2 separate regions of the Homo sapiens genome follow, and region 1 is linked to region 2. The links are contacts of gene promoters, found by promoter capture Hi-C in blood cells and fetal thymus (Javierre and others, 2016). All regions are on one chromosome and are shown on one strand. The core of a region is centred on a gene start or on the middle of the fragment in contact, and the rest is flanking DNA. Distances in the headings are between cores, read along the strand shown.

What was found. The method cuts DNA at HindIII sites, captures the fragments that hold promoters and counts their contacts. A CHiCAGO score of 5 or more calls a contact.
Region 1: a contact is called between a fragment that was not itself captured here and the fragment with the promoter of GHDC in region 2, in 1 of 17 cell types (endothelial precursors). The highest score is 5.2, in endothelial precursors.

Annotation. Positions count from the first base shown.
Region 1 is chr17:41,999,865-42,004,740 of GRCh38, forward strand. DNAJC7 (DnaJ heat shock protein family (Hsp40) member C7) reads right to left here. Exons shown (of 14, transcript NM_003315.4): 2 at 618-706. Among named protein-coding and RNA genes, the nearest start is that of DNAJC7, 15 kb to the right of the region's middle. The HindIII fragment of the contact is 1,869 bases long and covers 643-2,511 here.
Region 2 is chr17:42,191,646-42,196,031 of GRCh38, forward strand. GHDC (GH3 domain containing) reads right to left here and starts at 2,849. Exons shown (of 10, transcript NM_032484.5): 1 at 2,748-2,849; 2 at 2,122-2,205; 3 at 1,672-1,949; 4 at 1,261-1,382; 5 at 596-1,097. The coding sequence starts at 1,936. RefSeq lists enhancers at 1,337-1,867, 2,762-2,991. The HindIII fragment of the contact is 986 bases long and covers 2,102-3,087 here.

The DNA.
Region 1 (4,876 bases), core at 327-2,826, 190 kb before region 2:
TTGGAGTGCAGTGGCACAATCTTGGCTCACTGCAACTTCTACCTCCCGAGTTCAGGCAATTCTCCTGCCTCAGCCTCCCAAGTAGCTGGGATTACAGGTGCCCGCCACCAGGCCCAGCTAATTTTTGTATTTTTAGTAGAGACAGGGTTTCGTCATGTTGGCCAGAGTGGTCTGAAACCCCTGATCTAAAGTGATCCGCCTGCTTTGGCCTCCCAAAGTGCTGGGATTACAGGCATGAGCCACTGAGCCTGGCCTATTTTTTTTATCTTTTTGAGATGAAGTCTTGCTTTGTTGCCCAGGTTGGAGTGCAGTGGCACAATCTTGGCTCATTGCAACCTCTACCTCCCGAGTTCAGGCAATTCTCCTGCCTCAGCCTCCCAAGTAGCTGGGATTACAGGTGCCCGCCACCAGGCCCAGCTAATTTTTGTATTTTCAGTAGAGACGGGGTTTCGTCATGTTGGCCAGAGTGGTCTGAAACCCCTGATCTAAAGTGATCCTCCTGCTTTGGCCTCCCAAAGTGCTGGGATTACAGGCGTGAGCCACCAGGACTTGGCAGCTACTTTTAATAATATTTGGCAAGTAAATGTTTTCTAGCGTAAGTATCAGTTCTTTCTCACCTATGGCTTTTGTATAATAATTATAAGCTTCATTGTAATCTTTCTTGGCATAGTATGCATTTCCTTGTTCCTTGAAAGTCTCTGCTTCCCTGAAAATGAAAGAGAAAGAGAATCATGTTACTTTACAAAGGGAATAACCTCTGTAATCTTACAGGAGGAATCTTTGGTCTAGAGCCCGCAGCACACTGAGCTGAAAGTTAGTGTGATACTTGAAGGATTTATAGATTTGTTGAATAGGCCAATGGACCAAAAGGAGGTGCTAATGAAAGAATCCAAGTTCTTCAGATGCTCCTTTTTGTCACTTAGATACATTCAAACTAAATCAAGAAAACCCCTCTTATGTTCCTGCCTCACCTCACTATTTCTGCCTGTAGTCATCCTCCCCGCAGGACAAATTTAGACATTCCCTCATGGCAAGGAATTTTTCTATCTCCTTCCACAGTGTCACAACTGCTGCCTCTTTTGCAAACTTACAGGAAAAATGGTTACTCCATTCAGGGCAACTTATTTCTCAATGTGAAATAGGTCACATCCTCAAGAGTTTTAATAATTTCACCTCCTGAAAAGTGGCTCATGCATTTGTCACTGGAAGAACAAGCAGAGCAAAGGCAGGTGGCAAAAGAGTTAAAAGCATAGCATGTTGGTGTTTAAGACAGGAACAGAGCTGAGTGACAGCAGAGACTAAGACCGTGGATGACAGGGACATATGAGGTACAGGATGCCAGTGCCATACTATAAGGAGCACCCATCCACTGGTGTTCCCTCTTCCCATCACAACAATGTAGGTACTTGCTGCCCTCTTTGTACTCCCTCCAGTACCTTATATATTCAGCAACTGGGTGATAGCAGTATTTTTTCCCTACCTCTAAGATCTATTTTTTGAAACTGTGCCATTAGACAAAGTATACTTTCCTAAACTTTGTCCTAAAGGAACAATGTTATATAATTGGGAATTAGATTCCCGAGCAAGTACCTAGAATCAAATCAGACATGACCAACAGTGTTTTAAAAGAACTAGTAACCTCTATCAAGATACTCAAAATCATTCCACTGCTCAAGTGATAAAGATAATTCTTTACTGAAATGATTACTGCAACATTAACTAAGTACCTGATCATTTTTGTTATGAGAAACATCTTTCTTTTCCTGTTGTTCACATGCAAAAAAGAACCTAGTTCGGGGTTGCCTGAAGTTGAGGCAAAAGTCCTAGTTCTTAAACCTTGGTGATGGTACAGCAATTTACAGCTTGAGTCTACGGATATCTGCATTAGGGAGATTTGTGATTTACTTAAGTATTTTAAACTACAAACTGGTAAAGTCGCCCTCCTTTTATTGAGGTGATCCTCCCTCTCCATTCTTCTCCATCACTGTCCTGGCAAGCCCTACTAATATGAAAAGGCTGCTAGAAGGAGAAGGCAAATGGGAATGACCTATAAATGCTGACAGCTGTGAAATGTGATGGATATAAATCTGCTTGAGTAACTGTCTATACCAACTATCACAATGCTGAAAAGAGGCCTTCTGCTATGAAAAATCTTCAAGAAAGATCCCCCAATTGCAAGATTTAAAGAACCAACTGAAATCTTGCTACATGGTATTCACCATCCTGTAACTCTAAATTAAGCAAAGTGCTTATAAAAACTCTCAGGAGCCTATCCTTTAAGAGCAGACATGCCAAGGGATTTGAACAAAGGACTTCCCCAAAACTGGATTTCGATTAGTCAAACTGCTGTGAAGAAATGGAGTAGCAAATTCCAAAGTAAGACATTAGGCCCAAACTCCATCAGAGAAGATCTAGCCTCTTCTTCAGTTGGCTAGTGGCTAAGAATATACAAATCTTTGAGGAAAACGAAGACATCTAGGTACCTGGGGAGACACTGTGTCAGCAGTATAAAGCTTGTTAGTCGAAAGTGAAATAATGTACAGGGCTGCTGAAAGGTGCCCCTAGTCTCCTCCTTCCTAAGACACTACCCCTATGGAGGTCGGGGAGTTCAGGACTGGCTTCTAGAAAAAATGCAAAGGATGATTTTGGTGGACAGTTACTAATAACTACTGAGGCCAGGTACTTTCCATACAGTATCCTCTATAAAACACAGTCCGGTGAACTTCATTATTCCCATTTTTCAAAAGAGGAAATAAGGCCTGGGGGTTAAATAACTTGCCTGAGGTCAGGATGTTACCCATGTTTGTCAGAATACAAAGCTTGTGCACTTTCTACTATGCCAAGCTTTCTCTCTAATGCTTGCCTCCGCTTACTGCTAACTATTTTGAAAATTAGTCTGTACTACGAGGAGTAAGACATGGACAATATATGTAAGACATGGACAATACATATAAATTTGTTTAAACTAAGACACACAGTACACCCCACATGTAATATTCAACCCCAGAACCAAAATCGGTATTTAAATAAGCTAAATGACATTCCTAACAATTAGTCATAGAGGAAGCAGGGCTCCTTTCTCTTTAAGATGCAAGACCTAGTGAACTGGACTTTGCCTCCCCAAAGAAATGCATTTCATTTTAGTAAATGGTGAGTAGATTCCATTCTAGAGCAAACAAAGCAAGTAATGTAGAGTCAGCCCACAGCAAAAAGAACAAGAAGAATTGTGTTGTGACAAGTTGCCATGTTTTTAACCTCACACTGCACAGCATCAGGCCAGAATTAGCTATTCCCACACAACTGCCTCATGAAAAGGACTTATTTTCATAGAAACGTGGCTGATTAACAGCTGCCTAAACAATGGGCACTTAGTGCTTTTAGACTGAACGCTTATTTTTTGCCTTCAGGTCCAATGCCCAAAGTGGACTGGAGTCCCTCCTTCATTTTGAACCTCCCCACCAAATACACAACAAGCTTTAACCAGTGGGCCTGACCCTGCGAGACCAGTCGAGGAAAGAGTGGATCTTTGGAATCCAGCATGGCAGCAGCAAGAACTGAACAAGGCTGCATCAGGAACAATTCCAGTGTCAAATCCATTCAAGTCCTGCCCTGGAAGTCTGAGAAAGGGCTGAAGCTTGTTCAAGTTGCCTTTACAGCAAAGGGACTGAAGGATGAGATGTCAAAGGCGTGGGACTGGAAAAAAAGGAGAAGAGCTGGTTAACACTGGAATTGAAGGCAATCTGGTGGTGGCATCTGTCACTCACTCACTGCCAGGGTCAATTCATCTGATAGCCAAGTGAGGTTGTAACATGCACCTACTGAAACACACCAGTACTGAGAAAAGAAGACTTAGGATTAATTGGCTTCACCTAGACCAATTAAAAAAAAAAAGGATTCCCAATGCACTAAATTAAACTACAGATTATTTTCTGTGGCTACAAAATTAAATTCAGATTAAACTCTTAAATATAATACCACAGCAAAATATAGACTTGGCCATAACTGACCTGATGGTACTATTAACAACTACAATATATTTCTAGTGTTATTTCAGATTTTCGAAGCATTTCCAATGAAGATTTTCAATTTTTTTTTTTTTTTTTTTTTTTTAGATGGAGTCTAACTCTTTTGCCCAGGCTGGAGGGCAGTGGCATGAACTCGGTTCACTGCAGCCTCTGCCTCCTGGGTTCAAGTGTTCTCTCGCCTTAGCCTCCCGAGTAGCTGGGATTACAGGCATGTGCCACCATGCCCAGCTATTTTTTGTATTTTTAGTAGAGACGGGGTTTCATCATGTTGGCCAGACTGGTCTCAAACTCCTGACTGCAAATGATCCGCCTGCCTAGACCTCTCAAAGTGCTAGTAGGATTAAAGGCGTCAGCCACCACGCCTGGCCAAGATTTTCAAATGGCCTTCTGAGGTGGTTATGGCAATAATTTCACCTATCCTCCAACAGAGGAAGAGCTAGTGAGGCAACCAAGATGGCTGCACAGGTCTCCTAAGTCCTAGAAGTTTATGTTTTCCCCCACATCCTGTTAGTGTCAAGGCTTTTAGATTAAAACTAATTTATCCAGTTCTCCCACCAAATCCTTGGGTCAACTTCTAAGCAGAATAGCTTCACAGCTCTGATTCACCAAGAGATGCTGGGAATGACTCCACCTCCACCAATCCAGTCTTTTCATTTTAACTGACAGTAATAAAGTTGCATGAAAACAGCTACTGAAAGGTTTTCCAAAAAAATCTGTCCTCTCTGGATGCATGGAGGATCTCTCACAACAGGATCAGCACACTGGAAGCCCTGGCCTTCAGAGAAGACATCCCATTCATGGTCTCCTTTGCTATTTTAAAATGTATTTCTTTGTTTTTCAGAAATAACCTT
Region 2 (4,386 bases), core at 1,599-4,098:
CAGGGTTTCACCACATTGGCCAGGCTGGTCTTAAACTCCTAACTTCAGGTGATCCACCCACCTCAGCCTCTCCCAAAGTGCTGGGATTACACCCGTGAGCCACTGCCCCGGCCTTTTTTTTTTTTTTTTTTTTTTGAGACAGGGTCTTGCTCTGTCACCCAGGCTGGAGTGCAATGGCGCGATCTCAGCTCACTATAATTTCTGCCTCCAAGGTTTAAGCAATCCTCCCGCCTCAGCCTCCCAGGTAGCTGGGATTATAGGCGTGCACCACCATACTCCGCTAGTTTTTGTATTTTTAGTAGAGATGGGGTTTCGCCATGTTGGCCAGGCTGGTCTGGAACTCCTGACCTCAACGATCCATCCACCTTGGCCTCCCAAAGTGCTGGGATTACAGGCGTGAGCCACTGCACCCAGCTACAAGACTCTTAACCTAGAGAGCCTGAATTTCTTCACTTGTAAAAGGAGGCTGCTGGCCCTAGCATGCAGCTTGTTGGGGAGGATTAAATGAGATGATTATGTAGGGCCCAATGCATGGCTGCTTGTCATGTGACCACTGACCGTTGCCCCCACCTCACTGCCCTTGAGTCCCACTGACCTCCCGAGGCAGCATAAGCAGGAGAGAAGAAGGCTAGTCCTTGGCACCACAAGGCCCCGAGGGCAGCCACAGCCTCGGCCTGGCCTCCTGCATCCAGAGTCACCACCACCTGCAGCTTTGGCCAGAGCCGAAGGGCCAGTCCCCGTGGCCCCTGCTCTAGGGCCTCCCGGAGCTCAGCTGCCCGTTCACGGAGAGGCGCTCCAGGGTTCCCGGCAGCTATCGCCCCAGCTAGCTCTTCACCATCAGTCTCCAGGCCCAAGAAAACATCCAGAAGTTCGACAGCCGTCCCAGCCTCCAGTGCCCTCAGCCCTGGGGACCTCAGTGCGTCCAGCAGCAGGGCCCTAGGGTCCTTGGTTCCAGGGGTGCCCACCTGGCCCAGGGTATTCCCAGGCCAAGGCAGGGGTCGGGGCCAAGGGGATGTAAGCGTCACACGGGCAGTGCGTCCCTGAGCCAGCACTTCTGGGTAGGCCTTGTTTAGGGCTGCCAGACCCAGCAAGGTGGCCTGGAGGAGGAAAGAGAGAATGTTGGTCTGGTGTCAGAGCCAGACCCAGAGCCCCCATTTGGGGGTTCTTTGCCCACCATGACTGGAGGGTTTGGCTGCAAGTCAGAGGTCTCTGGTGGGACTGGGCTGTGGCCAGGACTGGGCTCTGGCCATCCTAGATTACCTGCAGAGAGGCCTCCCCAAGGTCCTGGTTTGAGGTCGGGGGCAGTGGCTGCTCTCCACTGTCTTCCTGCTGGGTCTGGCTGGCCTTGGTCAGAGGGAGATGATTCCGGAAGGTGCTTATGTCTATAGCCCCAATGACAACAGAAACGCCTCAGGAAGCCAGTTTCCCAAGAGTTTCAGGCAAGACTGGTGAGACCCTTGAGGGAGGAACCGAGAATAGGCCTGGGGTAGAGAGGATGTAAGGACCCAGCATGGGAAATTCATCTTGGACAAGAAAGCCAGTCCTGGGTCTCTGGGTCAGGCCACTCCGTTGGCAGTGGAGGAGGTAAGGGGGCCATCAGGCTCTGGAATCTGACGGTCCTGTGGGGTTTCTTTCTCTTTGGGTCACCTCCCCAGACCCTGGGAAACACACCTGTGCTCCTTCTGAGGGAACAGTGGGGGCGCTGGGCTCCCTGTAGACACCACCTCAGGGCCTGCTGCTGGCTCTGGTGCACATGGAGCGTGCTCTGCTCCAGCCTCCGCCGCTGCCAGGTGGCTGCCCAGACCAGGGCCCCCCATGCCACTCGGTGCTGGAGGCCAGCAAGCCAGGACAGCCTGGCATCCTGGGACCGCTGCTGCCTGAGCAGGGCCAATGTTGGCAGCAGCAGCAGCAGCAGCAGCAGTGGCCACAGCAGCATCTCCAAGCAGCTCCTGGGAAGAGGAAGGAACCGAGATATGGGGGCATGCAGCAATTATCCATTTCTCCTCCCACGCTCTACTGCATACAGGAAAACCGAGGAAAAATGAAATTGGGAAGAAGGCAGGACCCTGTGGGGCAGGTGATGCAAAGGAGAGACTATCAAAGCTTTGGAGTCCCACTGACCTGAGTGCAGATCCTGCCTCTGCCGCTTGTTAGCTGTAGGGCCCTGAGCAATTTAGTGGGCTGCACTGAGCTCTGTTTCCTGATCTGCAAAATGGGAATAAGAATAAGAATGCCTCTTTCAGAAGGTAGGGGTGGGCCGGGTGAGGTGGCTATCATCTGTAATCCCAGCACTTTGGGAGGCTGAGGCAGGAGAATCACTTGAGCCCAGGAGTTTGCAACCGGCCTGAGCAACATAGGGAGACTCCATCTCTACAAAAAATTGAAAAACTAGCCCAGCGTGGTGTCACACCCATAGTCGCAGCTACTTGGGAGGCTGAGATGGGAGGATCCCTTGAGCCCAGGATGTCAAGGCTACAGTGAGCCAAGATCGTGCCACTGCACCCCAGCTTGGGCAACAGAGTGAGACCCTGTCAAAAAAAAAAAGAAAAGAAAAAAAAGGGAGAAAAGAAGGAAGAGGAAGGGAAGGTACAGGAAGGGTTTCGGACAGGGTCGGTCGGGCACACAGCAGCTGCGTAACGATATCTCTTGCCCACTCCCGAGTGGCTTTGCTTTCTCTCGGGATCCACCCTGTCCCAGCTCCTTGTCCCTCCTGAGCCCCAGGCTGTGGGGTCCATGCCCACATGCACCTGTCACAGCCCACTTCTGCCTACTCCTGGCACGTGACGGAGACCCCTGGGTGACTCTGGGTCTCAGCACACATCCGGCCAGAAAGAAGGAGCGATGGCTTTAAAAGGCTGGGCCCCAACTGGGAAATCCGGCCACCAGGCCTGAGGGAGGAGCTGAAGGAGGGGGGTGCTCTTAAAGGGGCAGGTCGCCTACAGGACTTCATGTCGGGTGCTAGCCCAGGCTGGCAGTTGGGGCAGTTAGGACCAGACTAGCATGGTCCTCAAACTTGCGCAGGTGAAGGAACAGAAAGGTGTGTGTGGGAAAGAACGCCATTAAGCCACTTGAGCTGGGAGAGGGGCAAGCTTAAGAACTCTTAAAACCCCAACTCAGCTGGGCGCGGTGGCTCACGCCTGTATTCCCAACACTTTGGGAGGCTGAGGCGGGTGGATCATCTGAGGTCAGGAGTTTGACACCAGCCTGACCAACATGGTGAAACCCCATCTCTACTAAAAATACAAAATTAGCCAGATGTGGTGGCACATGCCTGTAATCCCAGCTACTTGGGAGGCTGAGGCAGAAGAATCACTTGAACTTGGGAGGCGGAGGTTGCAGTGAGCTGAGATTGCGCCATTGTACTCCAGCCTGGGCAATGAGCGAAACTCCGTCTCAAAAACAAACAAAACAAAAACAACAACAAAAAAAACCCCATCCTCTCCCTCAAGGTAGTTGAGAAAGAAAACAATTTTATTATTGAATAAGCATTCAACCACAATGTGATGTACATGACAGGTGATCTGCTAAGAGCTTGCAAAGAAGGGAGGAAATCTTACTTTTTTGTATAGCCAAGCGCATACAACCCATTACATACACGTTTTCAAGATAAACAATAACGAGTCCTCAAGTAAGAGGACTTGTCACATATAGTTTATCTTTTTTTTTTTTTTTTTTTTTTGAGACACAGTCTTGCTCTGTTGCCCAGGCTGGAGTGCAGTGGCACAATCTCAGCTCACTGCAACCTCCACTTCCCAGGTTCAAGCGATTCTGCTGCCCCAGCCTCCCAAGCAGCTGGGATTACAGGTGTGTGCCACCACGCCCAGCTAATTTTTGTATTTTCAGTAGAGATGGGGTTTCACCATGTTGGCCAGGCTGGTCTCAAACTCTTGACCTCAAGTGATCTACCCTCCTTGGCCTCCCAAAGTGCTGGGATTACAGGTGTGAGCCACCACACCCAGCCAGTCACATAGTTTATCTTAACTTTACATGGTTATTAGGTGAACATCTGTGTTAGCTTGCTGGCTTTATCCCAAGGAAAATTACAAACTTCTTTTTTTTTGTTTTTTTGGCAGAGTTCTATTCTTGTTGCCCAGGCTGGAGTGCAATGGCACGATCTTAGCTCACTGCAACCTCCGCCTCCCAGATTCAAGCAATTCTCCTGCCTCAGCCTCCCGAGTAGCTGGGATTACAGGCACGCATCACCACACCCAGCTAATTTTTTGTATTTTTAGTAGAGACGGGGTTTCACCATGTCACCATGTTGGCCAGGCTGGTCTCAAACTCCTGACCTCAAGTGATCCACCTGCCTCGGCCTCCCAAAGTGCTGGGATTACAGGCCTGAGCCACTGCACCCAGCCAGTCACATATAGTTTATCTTAACTTTAC